6 separate regions of the Homo sapiens genome follow, and all the other regions are linked to region 1. Evidence: promoter capture Hi-C in 16 types of primary human blood cells and fetal thymus (Javierre and others, 2016). All regions are on one chromosome and are shown on one strand. The core of a region is centred on a gene start or on the middle of the fragment in contact, and the rest is flanking DNA. Distances in the headings are between cores, read along the strand shown.

Evidence for each region. Contacts are between HindIII fragments. The CHiCAGO score rates a contact against its expected background, and 5 or more counts as called.
Region 2: a contact is called between the fragment with the promoter of MAP3K2 here and the fragment with the promoter of UGGT1 in region 1, in 7 of 17 cell types (naive CD4 T cells, total B cells, naive CD8 T cells and 4 more). The highest score is 9.5, in naive CD4 T cells.
Region 3: a contact is called between a fragment that was not itself captured here and the fragment with the promoter of UGGT1 in region 1, in 2 of 17 cell types (activated CD4 T cells and naive CD4 T cells). The highest score is 5.6, in activated CD4 T cells.
Region 4: a fragment that was not itself captured here is called in contact with the fragment with the promoter of UGGT1 in region 1 in 1 of 17 cell types (fetal thymus); the score reaches 5.5 in fetal thymus.
Region 5: a contact is called between a fragment that was not itself captured here and the fragment with the promoter of UGGT1 in region 1, in 1 of 17 cell types (fetal thymus). The highest score is 5.3, in fetal thymus.
Region 6: a contact is called between a fragment that was not itself captured here and the fragment with the promoter of UGGT1 in region 1, in 7 of 17 cell types (total CD8 T cells, naive B cells, total B cells and 4 more). The highest score is 6.8, in total CD8 T cells.

What each region holds. Positions count from the first base shown.
Region 1 is chr2:128,089,301-128,093,283 of GRCh38, reverse strand. It overlaps UGGT1 (UDP-glucose glycoprotein glucosyltransferase 1), which reads right to left and starts at 2,084. Exons shown (of 41, transcript NM_020120.4): 1 at 1,869-2,084. The coding sequence starts at 1,926. RefSeq lists an enhancer at 2,013-2,322. The HindIII fragment of the contact is 755 bases long and covers 1,562-2,316 here.
Region 2 is chr2:127,386,725-127,390,707 of GRCh38, reverse strand. It overlaps MAP3K2 (mitogen-activated protein kinase kinase kinase 2), which reads left to right and starts at 2,733. Exons shown (of 17, transcript NM_001371910.2): 1 at 2,733-3,256. MAP3K2-DT (MAP3K2 divergent transcript) reads right to left here and starts at 3,270. Exons shown (of 4, transcript NR_187129.1): 1 at 3,156-3,270; 2 at 1,710-1,827; 3 at 1,523-1,597. RefSeq lists a silencer at 2,444-3,313. The HindIII fragment of the contact is 12,520 bases long and covers 1-3,983 here.
Region 3 is chr2:127,410,014-127,413,996 of GRCh38, reverse strand. LOC124908047 (translation initiation factor IF-2-like) reads left to right here and starts at 3,643. Exons shown (of 3, transcript XM_047446883.1): 1 at 3,643-3,701. The coding sequence starts at 3,643. RefSeq lists enhancers at 2,783-2,832, 2,973-3,172. The HindIII fragment of the contact is 627 bases long and covers 2,044-2,670 here.
Region 4 is chr2:128,753,975-128,757,957 of GRCh38, reverse strand. No RefSeq gene overlaps it. Among named protein-coding and RNA genes, the nearest start is that of HS6ST1, 440 kb to the right of the region's middle. RefSeq lists an enhancer at 3,169-3,368. The HindIII fragment of the contact is 3,069 bases long and covers 618-3,686 here.
Region 5 is chr2:128,724,957-128,728,939 of GRCh38, reverse strand. No RefSeq gene overlaps it. Among named protein-coding and RNA genes, the nearest start is that of HS6ST1, 410 kb to the right of the region's middle. The HindIII fragment of the contact is 660 bases long and covers 1,394-2,053 here.
Region 6 is chr2:127,505,845-127,509,827 of GRCh38, reverse strand. All of the region lies in intron 2 of IWS1 (interacts with SUPT6H, CTD assembly factor 1), which reads left to right. Among named protein-coding and RNA genes, the nearest start is that of IWS1, 19 kb to the left of the region's middle. The HindIII fragment of the contact is 2,455 bases long and covers 641-3,095 here.

The sequences.
Region 1 (3,983 bases), core at 835-3,334:
AGGACTGCAAGATAGGTAAAATGAAAATCCTATGAACCTGTGGCCTGCCTCGAGATCCCCCTACACTGTTTTCAAAAAGGAGAGAGAGTACGTGTTCTTGGGGAGAGATGCAGCACCATTTGAGATGAAAAAAGGAGGAAAGCTATACATTAAAAAAGAGCTTTGCCACTCTGACCCCACATTCTTAACTCTACAGGTAAAACCAGAGGAAAAGACTGTCCAGAGAAGCAGACGTAAGAATCTCACTGAAGTGGTCTCTGCTTTGAGTATGTCTTCATTTTATAGGATCCCTTATCATTCTGACCCTAGGGGTTCTTAAATGTTGCTTATAAAGACAAACAGTCTGAGATAATGGCCAACAGAATGTGCCATGTGGCTTTGCATGATAAGCATTATACTTGCGGCATGATGAATAAACAGAAAACACTCTTTAACAAGTTCTAGGCCCAACTATCAACAACCATCCGTAGGAGGCTGAGGTAGGAGGACCACCTGAGCCCAGGAGGTGGAGGCTGCAGCTAGCAAGATCATGTCACTATTCTCTAACCTGGGCAACAGAGCAAGACTCTGCCTCACCAACAAAAAATAAAAAAATAAATTAAAACACTATCTCTTGCACCATTGCACTCCAGCCTGGGTAACAAGAGTGAAACTCCATCTCAAAAAAAAAAAAAAAAAGAAAGAAAGAAAGAAAATTATCACATCATCTTGTATTGTTACAGGGAAACTTAGATAAAAAAAGAAAATGCTCACAGACAGCTGCAGGAAAGTTCTAAGCAAATTTTCTTCTTACTTTCATATATTCCCCTGAAGTTCAATGTGCATTATAAATGTGCTATGCTACTGTACAAAGTATTATGGTCACTTCCTTTAATAAGTTTCATGTGGCCAGGAGTTCAAGATCAGACTGGTAGGTAACAAGACCTCATCTCTACAAAATAAATAAATAAATAAATAAATAAGAATTTTTTTAAAATAAGCTTCAGCTAAGTTTATCAAAAGCAAGTCAAGTGTTGCTAAATTCGACTGGCTTAAAAAAAAAAAAAGCAAAGTGAAAAGGCTACAATTATTCCAAGTTTTGTGGTGCTGTTAAATAGCTATTTAAAATGTCTTCAAACGCCTGCAAGTGTAAGATTCTTGAAGGAAAGAGGGCACTTTACACTAAAATTGGCTGGCAAGTACATCAATGAATGTTTCCAAAACAGTTAGTGTAGCACAATAAGGCAAAAGACCCCAGGACTTCAAACGAACAAAATTGCTCCTTCTCAAATCTGGCAAGAAATGCAAAACAACTGCAGATTCTGGCCAAGGAACAAAAACAGTTCACATCTATAAGTTATTGGCGACGGACGCAGATCTCATTCTGGCAGGTCCCACGCTAAAAGTGAAACCATATCATCCAATTTCCAGCCAACAGATCACAGTGTTAAAAGAAAACAGTAACCAATACGCATCAACCCGAATTCATTTTAGGAAAAATTGAAATCTATTTTAAAAAGCACGTCGTTCTGCAATCAGGGTCCTGCAAAGTGCTGCTTCTCAACTCACTGAGGATCAAGCTTGGTCTAAATCCATGGTAGGATACCTCCCCCATTTCCTTCTGCACTTGGCACAAGGATCTAAAGCTCTTCAAAGAAGGTTCAAGACCGCTGAACAGAGCCCGCCGCCACCCCCGCGGAAGCGATACCTTGCCAAGAAGACCACTGAGGGCAACTCGGGGCGCTCGCGAATAGGGGAAGGGATAGGACACCAGAGGGTAAACTGAGTCACGGTAGAGGCGGAAGCTCAATGTGACAGGGGCACAGGGTCGCCTTGTGCCCCAAACCCTCTCTTTGTCCACGAGGCCTCCTCACGCCACCCCTGGGTACCTGTCACCGGCAGCGCACCCGCGGCACACGCACCGCTCGCGTCTCCCTTGCAGCCCATGCCCGGGCCGTGGTCAGTCCGCCACAGTGCCAGAGACAACGCCAGGGCAGGGCGGGGCGAGGCGGCAGCGGCAGTGCAGGCTGCGCCAGTGAGAGGCCGACACGCGCCTTTCCCGCGGCTCGACTCAACACCCAGCCTCGCAAAGCAATTGCCCAGCTGCCGGCCGCCCTTTTACTTCCGCTTCCTGCAGGCGAACGCTGGAGGACTTCCGGATACCGAGTCGAGACCTAGCAGCCCAGAGCGTCGCGCGGTCGCCCTCTCATCTCCGAGGGTTGGGGAGGGGGGAGTCCTGCCTCTCTCCTCACTTCCGCCTTTCAGGGTGGCGGGTAGGCTGCCGGTCTTCAAGGTCTTGGGAAGGTTCGTTGGGCCAACAGCTGAGACCCGAAAGCTTCAACAGTCAGTCGGTGAAATCCAGTTTGGACTCTGGGACTTACTCCCTTAAACCTTTGTTAAAAGCTTACTCCCTTTAGCCTTTCGGTGGCACAGTAAGGACAATTGTCTTAATGTTTCTGAGCATCTTAGACTTTATACTAAACCCTAAAATTTTGATAGCTACCTTCCAGGAGGCATGATGAAAGGAAGACTTTTTAAATTTTATGAGCCGCTTGAGCTTTCTTATTCGGACAGCGGCAGCTTAGTCTACAGGGACTACTTTGTCCTTTTAGTATTTTTTTTTTAACTAATATAAACCAGTTTAAAATTGTTTTGGAATAGGTAGCATTTAACCCACCCAAAAATGAATACCTCTTTGGAGGGTATATTTTTAAGTATATTAAGTCAAAGTGAATGAAAAGCCAAAAATATTTTTTTGGAGTTGGAGTCTCGCTCTGTCTCCCAGGCTGGAATGCAGTGGCGCGATCTCGGCTCACTGCAACCTCCGCGCCCCCGCCCGCGCCCCCCACCCCCCAACCCCCCGACCCGCATTCAAGCGATTCTCCCACCTCAGCCTCCCCAGTAGCTGGGATTACAGGCGTGCGCCACCGCGCCTGGCTAATTTTTGTATTTTTAGTAGAGACAGGGTTTCACCCTGTTGGCCAGGCTGGTCTCGAACTGCTGACCTCAGATGATCCACCCGCCTCGGCCTCCCAAGTGCTGGGATTACAGGCGTGACCCACTGCGCCCGGCCCAAAATAATTTTAATAAATAAACATGAGCCAACATGATGAAGGGGAGGAAGGAGAGGAGGATGAAGGAGATGACTAATGGAACACTGATGGAGGCCGGGCGCGGTGGCTCACGCTGAGGATGGAGGCTGAGGCAGGAGAATGGCGTGAACCCGGGAGGCGGAGGTTGCTTGCAGTGAGCAGAGATCGCATCACTGCACTCCAGCCTGGGCGAGAGAGGGAGACTCCATCTCAAAAAAAAAAAAAACAGCAACAACAACAGCAAAAAAACACTGATGGATTCCAACCTTCCTTTTTTTACATTTTCTCCAGTCCCTGGGAGCAAGTTGCAGTTTTTTTGTTTTTTTGTTTTTTGTTTTTTCTCTCTTGTGCTCAGTCGCCCTGTTCTTGAGGTTTCTTTTCTCTACACTATAGTTCTCAACTTATTTTGGGGGAAATAACTTCAGCAGAATACAATGGGAAAAGAGTCTCTACCCCTTTCTGTTCGAAATTCATTTTTATCCCTTCCTGTCTGAGCAAAAACTGTATAGAATCAACATCACCCCAGCTCTGTGGGAAAAAAGAAAAACCTGCTCCCTTCGCCCTGCTGGAAGCTGGAGGGCTCTAGGCCCATGTGTAGCAGAGCATTCAATTCTAGCTTTCTTCCTGCTTTCTCTGTATATTGGGCTCGGAGAGTACACTGGGTCTCTATGTGAATATGGACAGTTAGCATTTACCAACATCTTTCTGTCTACTTTCTCTTGTTTAAAAAAAGAAAAAAACTTTAAAAAATGGGATTCTAGAAGTCAGCAAAGGGTGGGTCTGAGATGTTTGGGTGGGTTAAGCGGACATTTTGACAACATGGCTTCTCCTTTGGCATGTTTAATTGCGATGTTTGACACACATCCTTGCAGTTTAAGATGACGCTTTTAAAATAAATTCTCTCCTAATGAT
Region 2 (3,983 bases), core at 1,484-3,983, 700 kb after region 1:
GAATAGATTATCTCAGTGGGCCTGATCTAATCATATGAACTCTCTAAAAGCCGGGTGCAGTGGCTCATGCCTGTAATCCCAGCACTTTGGGAGGCTAAGGTGGGCAAATCACGAGGTCAGGGGTCCGAGACCAGCCTGACCAACATGGTGAAAACCTGTCTCTACTAAAAATACAAAACTTAGCTGGGCGTGGGGGTGGGTGCCTGTAATCCCAGCTACTCAGGAGGCTGAGGCAGGAGAATCACTTGAACCTGGGAGGCGGAGGTTGTAGTGAGCCGAGATTGCGCCATTGCACTCCATCCTGGGCGACAGAGTGAGACTCTGTCTCAAAAATAAAAAAATAAATAAAAATAAAAGCAGAGAGTTTTCTCTGGCTGGTAGCAAAAGAGGAAGTTAGAGAGAGATCTGATGTAGGAGGATGTTTGGCACGCAAGAAGGTCTCTGTCGCTGGCTTTCAAGATGGAAGGGGTCATGTGGCAAGGAATGCAGGTGACCTCTAGGAACTGAAGGCAGGCCCAGGAAATAGGGATGTCAATCCTACAACCACAGGAAACTGAATTGTGCCCCAAAGAAGAATGAGCTTGGAAGATCTTTGCAAGGGCCTCTAGATAAAAAGTCAGCCCAGCTGATACCTTGATTTCAGCCTTGCAATATACCCTGAGTAGAGAACTCAGCCTTGCCCCTGTGCAAACTTCTGATCTGTATAACTGGGAGCTAAAAAACAGACACTGTTTTAAGTCACTAAGTTTGTGGCAGTTTGTTATGCAGCAACAGAAAAGGAACATGCCACATTTCCTCTCTGAAGTCATCTCTCACTTCCCCAGACACACCTGTGACATCTTCCTCTTGCTGCTGTGGTGCCTGATACACATCCCTCCCATGATGCAGGTCACAGTGTGTTATCATTATCCATTTACCTGTCTGCCTTCCTCACAGGATTCTGAGTTCCTGGGCAGTGGGGACTATATAATTTTATCACTGCAATCCCAGGCACAGAGTAGGAAGGCAAAAAAATATTCATTGAATGATGGTTTCATCAATAAAAAAATCCCAATATCACTAATTTGTAATCATATATACTAAAATAACCAAAGATGTCAGAGATTTAATATCTAAGCAAGAGGAAAAGTCACCAATATAAAAGGAGAATGGCGAAAAAGAAAGAATAGCTACTATAACTATACCCACGGGATGTTTCTGAGGAACCCAGAGGTGAATGAAGTCCCCGGGGTGGTAAGTGAGGGAAGGGAGTGGAGAAATGAGCAGCACTATGAGGGGAAAAAATTTATCTCTAGATTACTTAGTAAACAAACACGTTTTTATTGAATGCCTGCTATGTGGTGACCCAGTAACTGTGGAGAACAATATAGATATTTAAGATTTAAATACTATCCTCCGGCGTTCTGAGACCCTCCTTTCTGTGGCATACAGGTCTTAGAATGTTAGATTCAAGAAGGTCTTAGATTTATGCATAAGTCCCCCATTTTTTAAACAAATAGAAGCAAACTGATTTTCCACTGACCTCTGTGTTTCTGAGGTGCACATCCTTGTTCCTGTGACTTTGACACCTCTGTTAATGGGTCTGTAATAAAAATTCCTGGAAGAAACCCAGAGATATTTTGACATTACACAACAGTTTCTCCCTCAGTCTCTGCCCCACAAGTGCCAGCTCCCTTGACCCTCAGAGCCCAAGTTGGGTAGCTCCTTACCTCTGGTTCGGGTGAGTCCCATTCCCATCTCTCTCATTTCAACTGCTCCAGTGGAAATGTGGTCTGGAATATGCATGAAAGGGGTGGATCCAGAATGTACGAAGAAACCAAGAAGAAGCTGAACAGGGAAGAATGGTACAGGAAGTTGTAAGGGGTATTTAAGGAAAGGAGAAGAGATGGGGCGGAAAGGTGCTTTCTGGATCAAAGTAGGGTGAAAACGTCGGGATGCAGGTTAGTCACACCACGGAGGGCCTCACCACTAGTCTGATTAATTTGCATTTTATCCTGTGGGAGATGAGGAGCGAAAGAAAGGGTTTTAGACTCTAGCTTTGGGGGTGGGGTGTCAACTCATGTCTCTGGGCTTAAGTTTCCACATCTGTTAAGCTGGAGAAGTAATACTTGCTGGGCTAACCAATGTACACAACCAGTCATAACCAAGTATCGATGGTGATAAGAACTAAACAGAAAACACAAATAACACTTAGCCAGTCTCCAAGGGGGTGGTTTAAGGTTAGGTGGCAAGCCTGAAGTAATTTCTAAAGTCCCTCAGGAAAAAAATTCTGAAACTTGAGCCACAAATTAAGAGGCAGACGGCTTTTCTCCTTGCAAATGACCTGCCACACAGTCCGTCACTGCCTCTGCTAGCTCTGCTACCCTTGGGCCCTGTCCACAGCCCACGTGGGAGACCTTTTCACGGGATCTACTCGGATGTCTGGGATCTGGCCACTACCGCAGGCTCGAGACAACCCAGGTGCGTATGCGCCGCGCACACGGAACAGCACAGGCTGCCCCGGGGCAGGGGCGGGGGCGGGGCCGAGGCCGGGGCGGAGCCAGGACTGGGAATCCCCGCGCCGTCCGGCCGGTGGGGGCGGTGGCCTGTGTGTGGGCGTGGCGGGCCTCTGCGCAGGCGCCGACCCACTCCCCTGGGCCGGGCGCGCGCCCGCGGCGGGTTCCGCTACCGCCGGGCGGAGGGGTGCGCGCGCACGAGCGAGCGGCCGTGACGTGCGCCGCGCTACGCCCGACGTCACGGGTCCGTGTGTAGTGGCTGCCGGGCTGCCTGCCCTCAGCGGCGGCGCCTGACGAGGGTGCCGCGGCCGCTGGGCGCAGCGTTCGGGGGTTGCACGGCCCGCGGCGGCGACGAAAACAACGACCAGGACGCTCGGCGCCCCTGTCCGCAGAGTCGCCACTCCCGCCTCTTCTCCGGTCTCTAGCGACGCGGGCCCGCGGCTTCCTCCTTTCCTGCCCAGTTCCCGCGGGCCTCGGGGTTGCAGCGGCTAGAAGTGCCGAGGAGCGCCAGGAGGACCCGGCCGGCTGCGAGGATTCACGCGCCCGCCACCCCGCCCGGCCCGGGCTTCATGTGAAAGAGGGACGGGCCTGGCCCCAAGGCCCGCGCCCGACTCCTCGCGCGCCCCTCCGGTCCCCGGGGGCCCTGCGGCAGCCCCCGACCTGGGGCCGCGGTGACAGGCCGCGCTGGGGCGGAGGGGCGGGCTCGGCGGGGGCGGCCCCTCCTTGGGCCTGCGGCTCTCTACGTCCCTGCGGAGCAGCCGGTACGTGCGTGTGTGCGTGCGCGCGCGCTTGTGTGTGTGTGTGTGTGTGTGTGCGCGCGTGTGTGTCGGGGGCCGCGGGCTGGGCGCCGGGAGGGGGGCTGGCGGCGGCCTAAGCGCCGCTCCAGGGGCGGAGATTTCGCTGGGTGATTGCCTAGCTGCGGGAGGGCGGACCTTGGGCCCCCTGCATCCAGTCCTAAAGCCCAGGTCAGCGCGAAGTAGGCTGCTGGGCTGTGTTAGCTGTCAGACACGTACCCTGCAGAGATTTTAGAAGAAAGGTTGCATCTGGTCTTGGGATGAAGCAGAAATGGTACATGCAGTAAGCGAAAAAGTGCTTGTCTTTGCACTGTCACAGTGTGGTAATCTTTTGATGTAAGGTTGTTTCCCCCTTTTCTCTTTACGGAATATTTAGGTAGCACTTAGGGTGCTCTTAGTCTGCGCCCGGCAGTTGTCATGCATTATCTCTCTTCATCTTCCCAGCTCAATGAGGTGGGTAAATTGCCCCATTTTGCAGGTGAAAACTTGAGGCTCAGAGAGATTAAGGCATTTGTCCAAGGTCATGAAGGTAGTAATCCAGGAAGGCTTGGTTCGAATATGCAGATGTCTTTTTGTAAGACTGTATTTCTCGTCTTGCAAAAAATAAATACGTTTAGAAAATGAGACTAACTGGGCAGTTTCTTTAATGGGATAAATTCTAAACACATAGACAGATACAGTTTAGTTTTCCCTA
Region 3 (3,983 bases), core at 1,108-3,607, 680 kb after region 1:
TTTACTTTTGGGAAAAAAAAATAAAGTCAAACTTTTCCAGAGTGGTGGTGGCATTTTGCATTCCCACCAAGCAATGTCTGAGTGTTCCTGTTGCTCTGCATCCTCACCAGCATTTGGTGTTGTCGGTTGTTTTTTAATTTTAATTTTCAATTTTTAGCCTTCTTAATAGATGTGTAGTGGTATCTCATTGTAGCTTTAATTTTCATTTCCCTCTTCTCTGGTGATTTTGAGCATCTTTTCCTGTGCTAATTTGCTATTTATATCTTCTTTGGTGAAGTGCCAGTTTAAGTCTTTGGGCTGTTTTTTGTTTGTTTCTTTGTTTTTGAGGGTTTTTTAAATTGAGTTTTTAGAATTTGTATGTATCCTAGTAACAAGCCCTTTGTCAGCTAAGTATTTTGCAAAAATTTCCTCTCAGTCTGTGACTTGTCTTTTATACTTAACAGTGTCTTTTAATGAACAGATGTTTGTAATTTTGATGAAGTCCAATTATCAACATTTTCTTTTATGATTCGTGCTTTTGTGTCCTACCAAAGAACACTGCCTTATTCAAGGTCACAAAGGCTTTCTCTTATGTTTTCTTCTAGAAGCTTTATGGTTTTTCACTCTTACATTTACATCTCTGACCCATTTTGAATTCGTTAATTTTGGTATATGGTGTGAGGTAGGGGCCAAGAATCATTCTTTAAAATATATGGAGATCTAGTTGTCACAGTCCCATTTCTTGCAAACACTATCCTTTCTCCCATTGAATTGCTTTGGTGCTTTGTTGAAATCAATTGACCGTATATGCATACATCTACTTCTGGACTCTATTTTGTTCTGTTAATCTATCTTTCATTTTTATGCCAACATTATAATGTCTTAATTGCTATTACAAGATTCAAGTAACTCATGAAATCAAGTAGTGTAAGTCCTCCAACTTTGTTCTTATTTTTCAAAATTGTTTTGGCTATTCTAGGTCCTTTCTACTTCTATATAAATTTTAGAACCAATTTCTCAATTTCTAAAAAAAAAATTCCTGGTGAAATCTTGATTTGGATTGAATTGAATCTATAGAACAATTTAGGAATAAAAGACATCTTAATGTTGAGTCTTCTCATCTATTAGCATGGTATTTCTCTACATTTATTCAGCTCTTTGTTAATTTCTCTCTCCAATGTTTAATTGTTTTCAGGTATAGGTCTTGAACATATTTTGTTAAATTTATCCCTACTTATTTCATGTTTTAAAAATGTTATTGTAAGTGGCATTTTAAAAATTTGAACTTACAATTGTTTGTTGCTAGTGTTTATAAATACAATTGACTTTTTAAATTGAGACATTATTTCTTGATTCTATAAACATGATAAGATGATCAACTATCCCATTTGTCTGGGATTGTACCATTTTTAACACTAAAAGTCCTAAAGAAGAAGCCAAAAAGTTAAAGGGAAGTAAACTCTCCCTTGGGAAGAGAAAAGTCGAGGTTTTCAGTGATTGATACAGGAGATTAGGGGAAAGGTATAAAACCCACATGGCAACCCCAGAAACAGAGGCCGAAGGCAACACTGGTTTTAGTGCCAAATGGGCACATCACCTTCCTTAGTGTCTGTTGCTGAGGACAACCACCATGATTTGTAGTACACCATAGTGGATCATCCATTATTATGTCACTCCTTGTGATGTAACTTAAGCGCGCTATAATCTTGAACGTGACCATCCACTTTGCCTGCGGATTAATTGTTGTGCTTTGTATTGAGACACTGCTAGTTTAATTTTAGCATGGTGACTACTGAGGCCATGTTTTCTTAAGCATTCAGGTGATGAAAATGAGGAAATGGTGTTGCAATATCAATGCCCGCGTGACCCAAATGGCCATGTTATTTTAACGACAGGAGGAGTGACACAGACAACTGGATGAGGGAGGTAAAGAATCAAAACAAGGGATACTGCGCAATAAGCAGAGAGAATTCGGGGTTGGGCATGGTGGAAGAAGGGACTGTAGAGACTGCCTCACAAGTCCTCAGTGAGATAGGCAAGTATGTCCACATTAACCAAAAAGCTTTTTGTCTCCACAAAAGACACCAATTGAAAATAGTGGCTGCTGAATTAGCTAGGGCAAACTACAAAAATGAATTTGTGTGATTGTGCTGCTCCTTTGATTGTTTTTTGAAACTGAGTAGGGGCACATTTCCTCATTTACAGGCTGTAACTGAAATATCACGTGGGTGAACAAAGGGAGAAATGTCGATGGCAGCTGTGTTGACCCTTTACAACATGCAGCGGATTCTGCCAGATCCCACCAACAATCATGCTTTCTACAGTAACCAAGTGCTGCATCCAATCATGGCAATGAAAAACAGTTCTCCTAACTTGTAAATACTTTGATTTGAAAAAATGGAGTTTCAAATCATCCTTTTTATTTCTATGAAGATTTTAATCCACCTGCAGAAAAAAAAAAAGAATGTTGATGCTATCTTGTCCAAATACAAACATGACTTTGCCCATCTGTCTGCCTATTTGGCAGACCGTGCAAATGTAAATTTTTGCAAATTCCATGCAGTCTATGAACGCTTTACCAAAGAAAAGTTAAAAATATTAGCCACGAAGTGTCCTGCACATTTTGTACACATCAGTAAAAAGGGGTGGAGTTTCCTTCCCTGTGATATTGATGCTTTCAAAATGAAAGCTTTTATTTACTTTTCAGTTTCCTCAAAGCATGAAAAAGCACTTAATGAGATTTTTCACATTCCAGAAATGGAAGGAGATGGCCTCCTTTGGACATGTGCCTACACGAGGGCTGTCACTGTTGCCAGGGTAAAAAGGCAGCCTGCCATACAACCATATTTTCAAAGCATGGGACAAGAAGAATGTCCTTGTCTAATTTGGAAATATATTAAGAATGAAAATAGAGAAAAAGATTATGGTTAAACAGTCAAACTGAAATTTATAAGTTCTTCCTCCAAAACTGCCTGATGATCTTTGAGGAGCCCATAAGGGCTCTGGAAAAGCATGAACTGACTGTCCCTGAGTTGTCGATGTTATAGGTAGGTACTGACAAAGCTCATATAATGAAAAATGACTCATTTTTTGGAAACGAAACCAAAATGTCACCAGAAAAGGACAGCCAATTTAAACAAGACTTTCTCACTTCTTTACTAAAACTGTAACTTATTTGGAATTCAACTTCAACTTCAACTTCACAAGTTCAAAGTATCTTTGTGCTTTAAAACTATTTTTCCTGAGAGAAACACAGACAGAGAAGGAGAGAGACAGAGAGAGGTTTAACTTACAGTGACATCCAGTGTGCTCAGAAATGTTCAAAAAGGGCCGGGTGCCATTGCTCACGCCTATAATTCCAGCACTTTGGGAGGCCGAGGTGGGTGGATCAGCTGAGGTCAGGAGTTCGAGACCAACCTGGCCAACATGGCGAACCCTGTCTCTACTAAAAATACAAAAATTAGCCAGGCGTGGTGGCACGCGCCTGTACTCCCAGCTACTTGGGAGGCTGAGGCCGGAGGATCACTTGAACCTGGGTAGTTGAGGTTGCAGTGAGCCGAGATCACGCCACTGTACTCCAGCCAGGGCGACAGAGTAAGACTCCAACTCAAAAAAAAAAAAAAAGTTCAAAAAGGATGGATATCTTAGCCATGGATATCCTACATGATAGATGCAAAAGATGACAAACTGCTGGTTTACCAAAACCAGCCTGCAGATGCAAAGTGAATGGACATCTTTGGACAGCTGGAAACGAATCCCTACAAATCTAAAACCCTGCCGTTGCTTGTAGGTACAATCCTAAGTATTCCATTCTCAAACGCTTTTGTTGAGATAGCAGCTTGAGGCCATCACATTGGACTGACCTCAGGAGTCAGTGTACTGAGGGCTCTCTAAGAGCAGAGCTGCAAGTCAAAGGATTTTCCATTTAACTATATTCAGTTTCATCACTACATCAAGGAAGAACTTCCTACTAAAGGCTGCAGGCAAGGAAATAAAAAGAGTCA
Region 4 (3,983 bases), core at 903-3,402, 660 kb before region 1:
TGGTGAAAATGCAACATGGTGACACCACTTTTAAAAACAGTTTGTCAATTCTTCAGTTAAACAGAGAGTTGTGATATGACCCAGCAATTCTACTCCTAGGTATATGTCCAAGAGAAATGAAAACATACGTCCACACAAAAAACTTACACACAAATATTCATAGCAGCGTTATTCATCCTAGCCAAAAAGTGGAAGCAACCCAAATGCCCATCAACAAGTGAATGGATTTTACAAAATGTGGTATCTCCATGCAATGGAATATTATCTAGCAATGAGAAGGGAGGTACCGATACATGACATGGGTGAACCATGAAAGCACTATGCTAAATGCAAGAAGCCAGGCACAAAGAGCCGCATATTGCCTGGGTCCATGTTATTGCCTCATATGTTTATTGAGTGACTTCCGTGTGCCAGGTGCTGTTCTTGGTCCTGGGGATTAATCGCTGAACACAGTAGACTTGATGGCTATCCTCCTGAGGCGTTCGTTCTAATGCAAGACAGATTTGAGATGGATGCTTGTGCACATAATTAATTCAGTAGAATTAATTGCAATTGTGATATGCACTAACAGAGAAGAGCAAGGGACTATGTCTTTGCCTGGGAGGTGGGGGAAAGCTTTGCTGAGAAGGTGACTCAATTGCATGTCCTCCTCTTTTTTTCACTTCACAGCATATTATAAGCATTTTCCCAAAATTAAAAATTCCTTATGCACATCATTTTTATGTCTGCATCATCCACTACTTGTGGTTGTGTCTCGCCATCCCTGAACAATGGGCAGGCTGTTTGTTTCCATTCTTTTTCTATTCTTCATACTGCTTCAAGAAACTCCTTTATGTAATATCCATATTCCTCATTACAGCTTAAGGATAAATTCCTACCAAAGTAATTACTCAATCAAAAGGCAGCTGTTTTTTGTTTTTGTTTTTGTTTTAAGATGGAGTCTCACTCTGTTGCCCAGGCTGGAGTGCAGTGGCGCGATCTCGGCTCGCTGCAACTTCTGTCTCCCAGGTTGGAGCAATTCTCCCTGCCTCAGCCTCCTGAGTAGCTGGGATTACAGGCGCGTGCCACCATGCCCGGCTAATTTTTGTATTTTTTTAGTAGGGACGGGGTTTCATGATGTTGGCCAGGGTGGTCTTGAACTCCTGTCCTCAGGTGATCTGCTAGCCTCAGCCTTCCAAGTGCTGGGACTATAAGCATGAGCCACCGCACCTGGCCAAAAGATAGTTTTTTAAAGCTCTTCGTATGTATCACCAAGTGTTTTTCAGAAAGATTGGTCTGCACCTGCCCCATCCACACCACACCCACACACCATAAACTGGAAGTTTCTCCTCGTTTCTCTCTCCATCCAGTGCTAGCAGCTGCCCAGCCCTCCTGACAGCGTCATTCCATCTCTGTGAAGGGACTGGAAAAAGGGCCTCCTGCTAAGTGTCACACATGGGCCCCAGCTGTACACTAGAGAGTGGGAGAGAACACATCTGACAGCCTGGACACCTCCCAGCTGTCAGTTCAGCATAATTGGAGCTCAATGCCAGATCTCAATGTATCCAACCATCTTCTGCATGACTCTTTTGCCCCTTTTTTCATCTCTATTTTTGGTGTTGCTGTGGTTCATTTACTAGTCCTATAATAAATCATGCAGTGATTGCCACAAGTTTTAATATATAAGATTTGCTCAAATTCAAGTAATTTGATTTCAGAGATGACTCACTTTGTTTTCGAGCCTCAAAGAATGACATCAGGCAGGCTGGACTTTGGATCTCAGGTCTTCAGCTCCATAGTTTTAGAACCTCGGGCAGGTGCACCTCCTCACGTCTATGAGTTTCTGAAAATGTAGATAGCCCCTATTTAACCACGGGAGTGAGGCTTGTCTCAGAAAACACGTCCACCGCCACTGCCTGGCAGGTGGTCCCGTGGGACATGCTAGTTCTCCTGTCCCTGCTCTTCTCTCCCCACAGCCCACAGGATGGGGCATCCATGCGTCCTCCGTAGGCAAGGAGCCCCTGCAACTTTTATGCAGAGTTACAGTTGCTGTCACACCATCAGCCAACACTCTTCCAGGGAGCTCCTACCGGGGCACAGAGCTGTTGGATTATCCATGGTCATGCATAATCGACACAAGGCACAGCCCCGGAGATGGTTAAAATCTTCTGGCACTAGCAGGGTATATATGAAACCTAAACAGCCAGTTCCGAAAAAAAGTTTTCAGAGGGGTCCTCGACACTGGGAAAGCTGCCGGGTGAGGACAGACAAGAGGCCAATGTGAAGTCTCTTTTTCCATTTTCCTGCTTGATTTTTCTGCTTGAGACTTAACCATGATAAATCCTGGAATACTCCTTATTTATCTTTGTTGTTTTCCGTCTCTCCCCACTAGAGGGCGTGCTCCATGAGGGCAGGGGTCTTCGCTTTTCTCTCTGCTGCATCCTGAGCGCGGCTGGGACTTTTTGACTCTCGGTTAATATTGACCGAATGAATAAATGACTAAGTCAGCAGTGGAAGCAGGAAAAAAGGCATGCATGTGTATTTTTGGAGAGAAAAAGGGAGGTTTGCTGGAAGCAGAGGAGCTCTGTCTCCTTTTTTTTTTTTTTTTTGAGACGGAGTCTCTCTCTGTCGCCCAGGCTGGAGTGCAGTGGAGCAATCTCGGCTCACTGCAAGCTCCGCCTCCCGGGTTCCCGCCATTCTCCTGCCTCAGCCTCCTCAGTAGCTGGGATTACAGGCGCCCGCCACCACGCCCGGCTAATTTTTTTTGTATTTTTTAGTAGACACGGGGTTTCACCGTGTTAGCCAGGATGGTCTCGATCTCTTGACCTCGTGATCCGCCCGCCTCGGCCTCCGGAGCTCTGTCTCTTTGGGGTGCACAGCTCACTGCCCCCCAGAGTCTCCAGGGCCGAGGGTCAGGGATGTGGGTTGAATTGCAGGACCTCAGCTTTAATATGCTTTCCCGTTAATATGCTTTCCCGTCACAGGGAAACGGACTCCACCCAGACTGACTGTGGGATTGATTTCTAGGTCTTTTTATCTTTGGGGGTCAGGTGAAGAGATGGAAAAAGTTAATATATGTTGCATTTCAGAAACAAACTTAGGAAAAAGTTCTCTGGCATTTTCTAGCCATATGATGTGTATACATAGCCTAACATCTTTTTTTCTTCCATTTCTGTATCTGTACTATGAGATCAACTTATAGGAAATAATGTCTGTAAAACAATAACACAGTTCTTGACTCCTAGTAGACAATCAGTAATTGATGTCAGCTATCCTGGTGGTGGTGATGGTGCTATTATTTGCTTCCTGTTCCAGGTGGCTTCTGGTTCCCTTGGGACTTGCCCTGTGTGCAGGTACAGTTCAGACCAGAGGAGAAGCGGAACACACCGCAGCATCCTGTGGGGTCCTGCATAGTGGAGTAAATGAGCCTGGGCATTTGGGAGAGGGCTAGGGGAGTGTTGGTGTAAAGGACAGCAAGCAAGTGGTGACAGCCACCGGCTATTAATACTTTTAGTGAGTTTCTGCTTCACTGCCGGTCATTTTTTCTCACACTTAACAGCTTGCACTGATGACAGGAAGCACATGCTTGTAAGCAGACCATCTCCTGCAGCACTCACTGCACACAGGGCCTGTCTCCACCGGGACTGAGAGCCCAGACTCTCCTGCCCACATCCTGCAGCTGGCCTGGGAGGAGGCGCCTGCAAGCTTCCTCCTTTGGTTATCTCTCTCTTGCTGCGCCTCTGCTGCTTTTCCATGTGATCAAAGCAACCTTGACATCTTTCCCCCGTGCAGAATTTAATTTCCTAACTGAGATTTTATATATAGCACAAAATAAAGTTCTTATGTCTCTGATCTTGCAAGATAACCCCCAGCCCCACCTCACCTGCACAGGAGCAGGGCTCCAATTGATATGATAATGCAGGAGAATGCAGCCCTGGAAGGATGTCAGGCACTTCTAAATATACACGCGTGCGGCCCAGTTCTGACTAGTGAGGGCTTTGATG
Region 5 (3,983 bases), core at 474-2,973, 640 kb before region 1:
TTCTAAAGTTGCATGATGATGCTTCTAGATAAGTTTATTTTTAATTTTTCTATTTAATATTTGATGTACTCCTTTAATATCAAGACTTGTGTCTAACTTCTTCAAATACTGTCACATTCTCAATCTCACTAATTATTGCTTCAAGAATTTCTATTAGATATGTATTTGAGATTCTGATTTTAGCCTCTGCACCTCTCAAATTATCTTTCTCTTATTTGTTCCATAAAGAATTTTGATAGATTAACTCTTTCTTCCTATTCACTAATTTTATCTTCAGTTGTCAGTTGTATTTGGACTATTGTATTATTTATCTATTAAAGACATTGTTTTCCTTTAATTTCAATGACTATTTAGTTTCTTGAATTATTTGGTCCTTTTGCATAGTGGCTTTCTCTAGTACCTGTAGATTCTCTCCTTTTTTTTTTTTTTTTGTCTCATTTATCATTTAAATACACTTACTCTATGGCTGCTAGTTCCACAGGAGTAAATATTCCCATTTCTTCCATCTGCTGATTCTCTTTCATAGTGTTAGGTTTCCCCATTTACTCTGAGATTTTGTCTGTGAGCTCATCTTCAACAAGACTTACCTTCTGTAACAATCCAGGATGTGCCGTGAGCTGTGGGTATGTCCTTGTAGGGGACTTAACATTGCATCTGCCAGAGCCCTAAAATGTGTGAAAGTTGTCAGAATCAAAGTGGAGTCACTCTTTCAAACCATAGCAAAATAGAGCCAGGGAAGGCCATGAAGGGAGGACTCTCACTCATAATTTATCTGATGATAGGATCCACCTCAAAAATTGTTTCCAAACCACAGCTTACTACATGAGTCACACAAGAAAAGCTAGCAGCACAAGAACAGCTAGCCACTTCTAGAGGCACGCTGGCCTGTTTTGCAACTCTCACAAGGTCAGTCCAAAAATACAAAGGCCTAACCGTAACTCCAAGATGCTGAGTCCCACCTAGCAGCTACTGATACTTGACAATGAACTTTCAAAACAACTTGCATCACCTCTTCTCTCCCCAGTAAAACCTTAATTTTCCTTTGTTCTCCAGACATGCCAGAGACCATCCCAGTCTATGCATATGTCTGAGATCTCAATCCTATTTCTTTGTTCATTCCCAAATAAATCCCTTTTGCTTGGAGTTCTGTCTCCATATATTCTTATTTCAAATTGGACAAGTGCCATGAGGCCAAATTCTACAATAATTATCATTTTTTGTTTGTTTATTTTGACACTATGGCATAGGCAGTGTGACTTGGAGCCCCACATCTTTTTGTGACAGAGGCTGGGGTTTCAGTTTTACATGGGAAACTCCCCCTGCCACAGTCTGCAGGGGCAAGCTCCTTCCTGTGCCCCAGCCCTGGCCTACACAGTCCTTCTCCACCCAAGCTTTCACATGGAGCCCTCGATGTCCATCTTTACACAGAACAAAATCCCTGCCATAAGGAGTGGATCCAGCCCCTGAGGGCTCTGCAGCTTCAACGCTGGCTCTCTGTCATGGCTTTGCATTCCTTCTTTGTTGATTGCTTCTAGTTATTTCTCTTTCTTACATTGAAACTGGGCTTTTTTCTTAATTGCTTCATTGCATCTATCATGGATAAATGAGCTCAGACTTCTAGTCAAGGTAGTAAGCTGACATGTCCACTAAAACGTCTAACAGACATCTCAGTTTCTCCCCCAGCCACAACCTGGTTCTGTCAGTCTTTCTTGTTATAGCAAATAACACCAATGACCAGCCAGTTGCTTGGAGCAACAGGCAATGATAAGTATTCAGCTCTATTTGGTTTAATACCTTGACCAGAAGTCTGAGCTCCACACATGTCAGTGGTCACAGACTGGTCATTCAGAAAAAGAAACAAGCTGAATCTGGCACCCCTTAACCTCAAGAAACTCCTGTCGGTTCCTACTACGTTATCACAGCCATTTATTTAATTTCACTAGAAACCACCCAACTCTCGGATCTCTAATTTCTAAAATATATTTTACCTTCTTAAAGATTTGTGCAATATGAATCCTCTTGACATTTTCTGGACTCTCCATCACTCCAAGCTTTATCATAGGTTAGCAATGGGCTTCATGATCCTTTTGATGTTTATATGCTGGGCCACGATCTGCCCTGTGCTCAGCCCTGCTAATGCTTTCTTTTGCCTTCTCCCTTAGGCTGGGTCTCCTGCCTCCTAACCATGTTGCATCCACCCTTTCCATTTTGTAGGTTTAGTTTTTTTAGAAAAATCATGGCAGTAAAACAGAAAGTGAGACATTGTACTTTCTCTCTGTCACCTTTTAACATTACACCATATGCCATCAACAGTTGGACTCTGTCAACAAAACTTACAAAATCCTTCAAAAAATATTTTTAACAGTTGTTTTTTCATTTATGAGCTCCTTCTGATCTTTTGCCTTCCTTAGCATCTTATTCCAGACTTGTGCCGTGCTGTGGCATTTATCTTGGATTATATCAGTTCCCTTTCAGCCCACATGAATCAGTCTCAGAATAGCCTCCTCCCACCCAGGCTCCTTCTGAGTCTCTCTTGGCTCCTCTTCACCACCCAGACCTTGAGCTGAGAGTGCCCAGGGCTCAAACCTCAGTACCCAGGGCTCAAACCTCAGACCTGTTTTCTTCTCTCTCTCTCTACAGTGTTTGCATTCAATCTTACAGCCTGTAATATCGCAAAGACTTGGGTAACTTCTGGCTCCACAGCCTATTTATCTGCTCAGATTCCCACTCTTTAACACCGGCCTCACTAATCCACCTGCAGACTTGACCTCTTTATTTGGATTTCTAACAAACACCTCAATCCCCCTGCCTCCAGCACCTGGCCTCTCTGCTTTCCCCAATTTAATAAATGATGTCAACATTCAACTAGTAACTGAAGGCAAAGATTCTAGAGTCAATCTTGTAGCCACGTTTTCTTATTCCACATTCAACTCAACAGCTAATCCTGTCACCTCCACCTTCAAAATATATCTATATCAAAATAGATGTAATCTATCCAATATTCTTTCCAGCTTTTCTTTTCAACTTTGCAAATGTGATCACATTCTCACCAGCCTCCCTGCTTCCACTTTTGCCCTGCAACCTGTTCTCTACCCAAAAATGCTTCCTCTCATGGTCTACGCGAGCTTGGACAGGCCCTCCCAGCCCTCTCTGCCCACCTCCCCATCTCGTCTCACAGAACTCTTCCAGTCCTAGGGCCTGCTTTCTGTTCCTCAGACATATCATTGTCCCAGTCTCAGGACATTTGCACATGCCACACTCTCCACTGGAGTATTCTGTCCAGTACGGCTACAGTAAATCTTCCTCATTTCATCTATATCTCAGCTCAAAAATCACCTTGGAGACAGCTAAAATCACAAGTCCTGTCTATCCCCATAGCCTGCTTTTTCTTCATAGCCCTTGTCACCGCCTCATAAATCATTTGCTTACTGGTTTCTGTCCCCAACTATCAAATGAGCTGCTTGGGGCAGGGACCTTGCCATTTCCAGGGGCTCGCTATATTTCCAGAGCTTGGAGAAGAGCCTGTGTGTAGGAGGCCTTCCTTAAACATGTGCTGACCTGACTTTTTCTATTCGGCAGATGACTTCAATATCCTACCTGCATAGGAGGGGGAAACTCTGGCTGTCATGCGGGGCCTGAGCCTCTGAGAGCTGAATGCATACAGGCATGGGAGGTGATGGGAAATAAAGGTAAAAACACAACTGAGAAGCCAGACGGTGGGTGTGGTGTTTGTGGTGTGGATACCCGAGGCAATGCTGTTCACCCGGGACCTGGTTAGGAAAGGCCTGCACTTACAAATCCCTGAGGCCATTAGGCGTGGCTGCCACAAGGAGAAGCTCCCTGGTCAGCGGTCTCCATTTGAAGGCAGGCTGGGTTTGATCCCTGGATAGGACTTCTTCCAAAGGTCAGTTGGAAACTGACTAGAAAACCAGTCTCATTAACATGCTCAGAGAATCCTGAGTGGGAGTTTTCCTCACAAAACA
Region 6 (3,983 bases), core at 619-3,118, 580 kb after region 1:
AGATAAACAAGATTGTTTATTATGATGGATAACCAGTGATTTATAACTGCAGTGTGAATGATGGCTAAGAAGGAGGTATGAGGCATTATCGATGGCTTTTTTTTTTTTTTTTTTTTTTTTGAGATGGAGTGTTGCTCTGTCACATAGGCTGGAGTGCAGTGGCACGATCTTGGCTCACTGCAACCTCCGCTTCCTGGGTTCAAGTGATTCTCCTGCCTCAGCCTCTCAAGTAGCTGGGACTACAGGAGTGCGCCACCACACTCAGCTAATTTTTTGCATTTTTCGTAGAGACAGGGTTTCACCATGTTAGGCAGGATGGTCTCAATCTCCTGACCTCGTGATCTGCCCACCTCGGCCTCCCAAAGTGCTGGGATTACAGGCGTGAGCCACTGCGCCCGGCGGCATTATAGATGTTTCTAAAGCATCTAAGGACCTTCTGAGTGCTCAATTTCTTTTACCATTACAACTAGGAAATGTGTTACATTATTTTAGAAATGACATTAAATGTCAGTTTCAACTGTTGGTTTGTTGTACTCATCTGACTTTTAAAAAACTGTCTTTTGGATTTTTTTTAAGCTTGCAATTTAATTGCCAAAACCACTCTAAAAACTTTGGATATTGTTTTGATAACTTTTAAGCTTAACTGTATAATTTCCAGCATACTCGTCCCAAATTCTGTGGTGGTGTTGTCTAAGTGTATTCTTTAGCTCGAGTCTATTAAACTAGTACTTCTTTACTGTAGTGATTTCTCCCCTTTTTTGCCCTGTCATGCCATACATAATGCTATGTTTTCGTGAAACTCATAAAAAATTCATGAGGATTCCTAAATTTTACAATCATTGTCTTATGCAGTGTCCTTGTAAGGGTTTGTTTTGGAATGCTACACCATGTGTCAGGAAATCTGGGGTAGAGTGTAGCGGGTGAGTTTTGGATGACTGCCCAGTGTCTCTCACTTCTTTGGGAGTGACTCCCAGTGCTGTGCCCCGATCCAGCTGTAACTGATTGAGTCACAGTTTCTAATATTGCCTTGGCCAGTTAAGTCATCTCTCTTGGGGATTTATAATTTAGGTTCTAGACAGGGTATAGCTGAGTCATGTTACTGATGGTACTCTAGTAAAATGATCCTTGAGTTCCCTTTTCTAAGCTCTCTGTGCTGCGTTGGTACTTAACCTTCCCAAGTGTTTAGTCATTCAACTGACTTTGATCCTGAGAAGATTGTTCTTTTTTTCTGGACTTAGCTAGAGATGATTTCTGTAGTTTCAACTAAAATAAATCAAGTCACACATAGAAATGGTGTTAGAGTTATGTGATGGATATATCATGGAGAGCATTCCAAAAGCCAATTATAATTTTCCTTTTTGCCTCCTGCTTTAATTGCCTCTGCTGGTACTGTATGCCTCTCCCCACCCTCCCGTCTTAACTCAGCCATCACAAACTGCATGCAAACATGCCTGTTGTCTGCACACCTTTTTTTTGCAGCTCAGTTTCATATAGATGCACTTCCAGTACACTTTTGAAATATCATATACATACTTTGTGAATAGTGCATGTCACACTATACTGTTACAGTATGCTTGGCTGGCTCCTCATCAGACAGCAGCTCTTAAGGTCAGGCCCTGTGACATACTCCGCCTGGATTCTTGGTGTCTTGCACGTAGTAGACATGAAATACATTCTTGTTGGATTAATTTTTCCTCACCTTATGTTATTCCCACTTAAGGCCTTTATTACTCATTTAACAAATACACGTTGAGTATCCCTTATCCAAAATGCTTCAAATCAGAAGTGTTTTGGATTTAGAATTTTTTCGAGTTTTGGAATATTTACTTATACAGAGTGAGCTATTTTGGCGATGGAACCCAAGTCTAAACACGAAATTCATGTGTCTTATATACATAGCTGGAAGGTAATTTTACACATTATTTTAAATAATTTTTCACATGAAACAAAGTTTGTGTTGGGTGCTTATGTGTGGAATTTTCCACTTGTGGTGTCATGTCAGTGCTCAAGAAGTTTCAGATTTTGGAGTTGTCTGAATTTTCAGATTAGGAATGCTCGAACTCTACCTAGTGTGTGTATGTTCTGGAGACCATTCTGCACTCTGAGGATACCTCAGGAAAACAAACCAAAATATGTCTGCCTTCCTAGAGCTTACAATCTAGATAGTTAAATTTTCCATCTGCATTCTTTTAAATTATGAAGTGTGGCTAAAGTAAACTTTAGGCAACATACAGACTATTGTACGGTAATTGTAAGATTCTATGATATCTCTCAAGTCCTAATACCGTTTTAATAGATAAGTGCCTGTTTCAGTGGGATAATAGAGCTTGTGACTGACAAGGAATCTAATACAGTACTGTGTTGAGTGCCCAGTGAGAACTCAAGAAAAATGTATTTAGGAATTTTGAAAAGTGTATGATTTTGGAAACTTACCTGAATGTGCTATATTTCAGTGACTGTGTATAGCAATGACTCTTTGCAATGCTGTGCTGTCATAATGGTGATAAAATATTTAAAAACTCTTCAAACATTGGCTTTGTAGGCTATTTTATAATTTTTCATATTCTTTTTGAATTTGTAGACACAGCATACTTGGGTTAGTAAAAGTTTGGGTTTTATGAGAACATTTTCAAGCCATTTATCTTGTCATTGACAAGAATAATCTTGTCACTTAACTGTTTCATAGCATGATGTTGGGCATATATATTATTAAAGGCTCTTTGGTCCTTGAAAATTGGTCTGTGGTAGGTTCACATAGCTTAAGTCATATATCTAACAAGAAATATTTGGCTCAGTAAATTTTTAAGAGGGTATACTCAAACACGGAAATACTTTCACTTTTTAAGCTAGAATATTATTGCCATGTTATTTAAAGTTGAGCTACCAGATGGGAGAAAAAATTCACCGGATCCTAAAATACTTGTTAGTATTTTGGCATGTTTAATTTTGTATATTTTTCTCTGCATTTTAAAGCCATAGCTATAATATGCACATATCAAGTTTGTACCCCAGGGCATGTTTTCAGAGTAATTATTTCAAGTAACATTATGTGTTGGTATAGTTAGATGAATCATGTTCTCCCTAAAACTTAAGCTTTCTTGTTTCTAGGGTTACTAGACACAGGACCGTGACTACTGTAAGCCTCAATTTTGTTATCATGAGAAGTACCATTATGAGGAGTAAATGAACTAACAGGAGAGAGCCTGTTGTGGTATTGGCTCTTAGTGGGTACTTAGGAAATGTTAACTTCTCCTTTCTTTGTTTGCTTAAATTATCTTGGGAGAAGGTGCCCATATGTTATTTGACCCTTTAAATAAAATTAAATTTTATAGTTCTTTTCCCTTAAATAATCTTAACCTTATAAAACCCAAGAATGTTCCTGTGTAAAAGAACTTGGTTACATGTTTGCTTGTATTTCTTTGAAAAATAGAGTTATTTATTTTTATTTATTTATTTTTATTTTTGACAGTCTCACTCTGTCACCCAGGCTGGAGTGCGATGGTGCAATCTCAGCTCACTGCAACCTCCGCCTCCCAGGTTCAAGTGATTCTCCTGCCTCAGCCTCCCTAGTAGCTGGGATTACAGGTGTCCACCACCACGCCCAGCTAATTTTTGTATTTTTAATAGAGACAGGGTTTCACCATGTTGGCCGGGCTGGTCTCGAACTCCTGACCTCAGGTGATCCACCACCTCGGCCTCCCAAAAGGTGTGAGCCACCTTGTCCAGCCTAGAGTTATATTTTTACAAAACAGAAGTATGTATGAGAAAATTCGCCTTTTAAAAAAGAAAAAATCTAGCTCTTCACGGTCAGTTTTCTGTAGTAATCTGAGGGCATGCTTTACAAATCTGTTTTGATGAAGGCTGGTTATATTTCCCCATTTGGGGATCCAAATAAAACCATTTCACTGATTGGCTTTCTGTGGGGGTGTTTCTATATGGGTATAGGACAAGAATTCTCCATTTAGGTGCACATAATCCTGTAT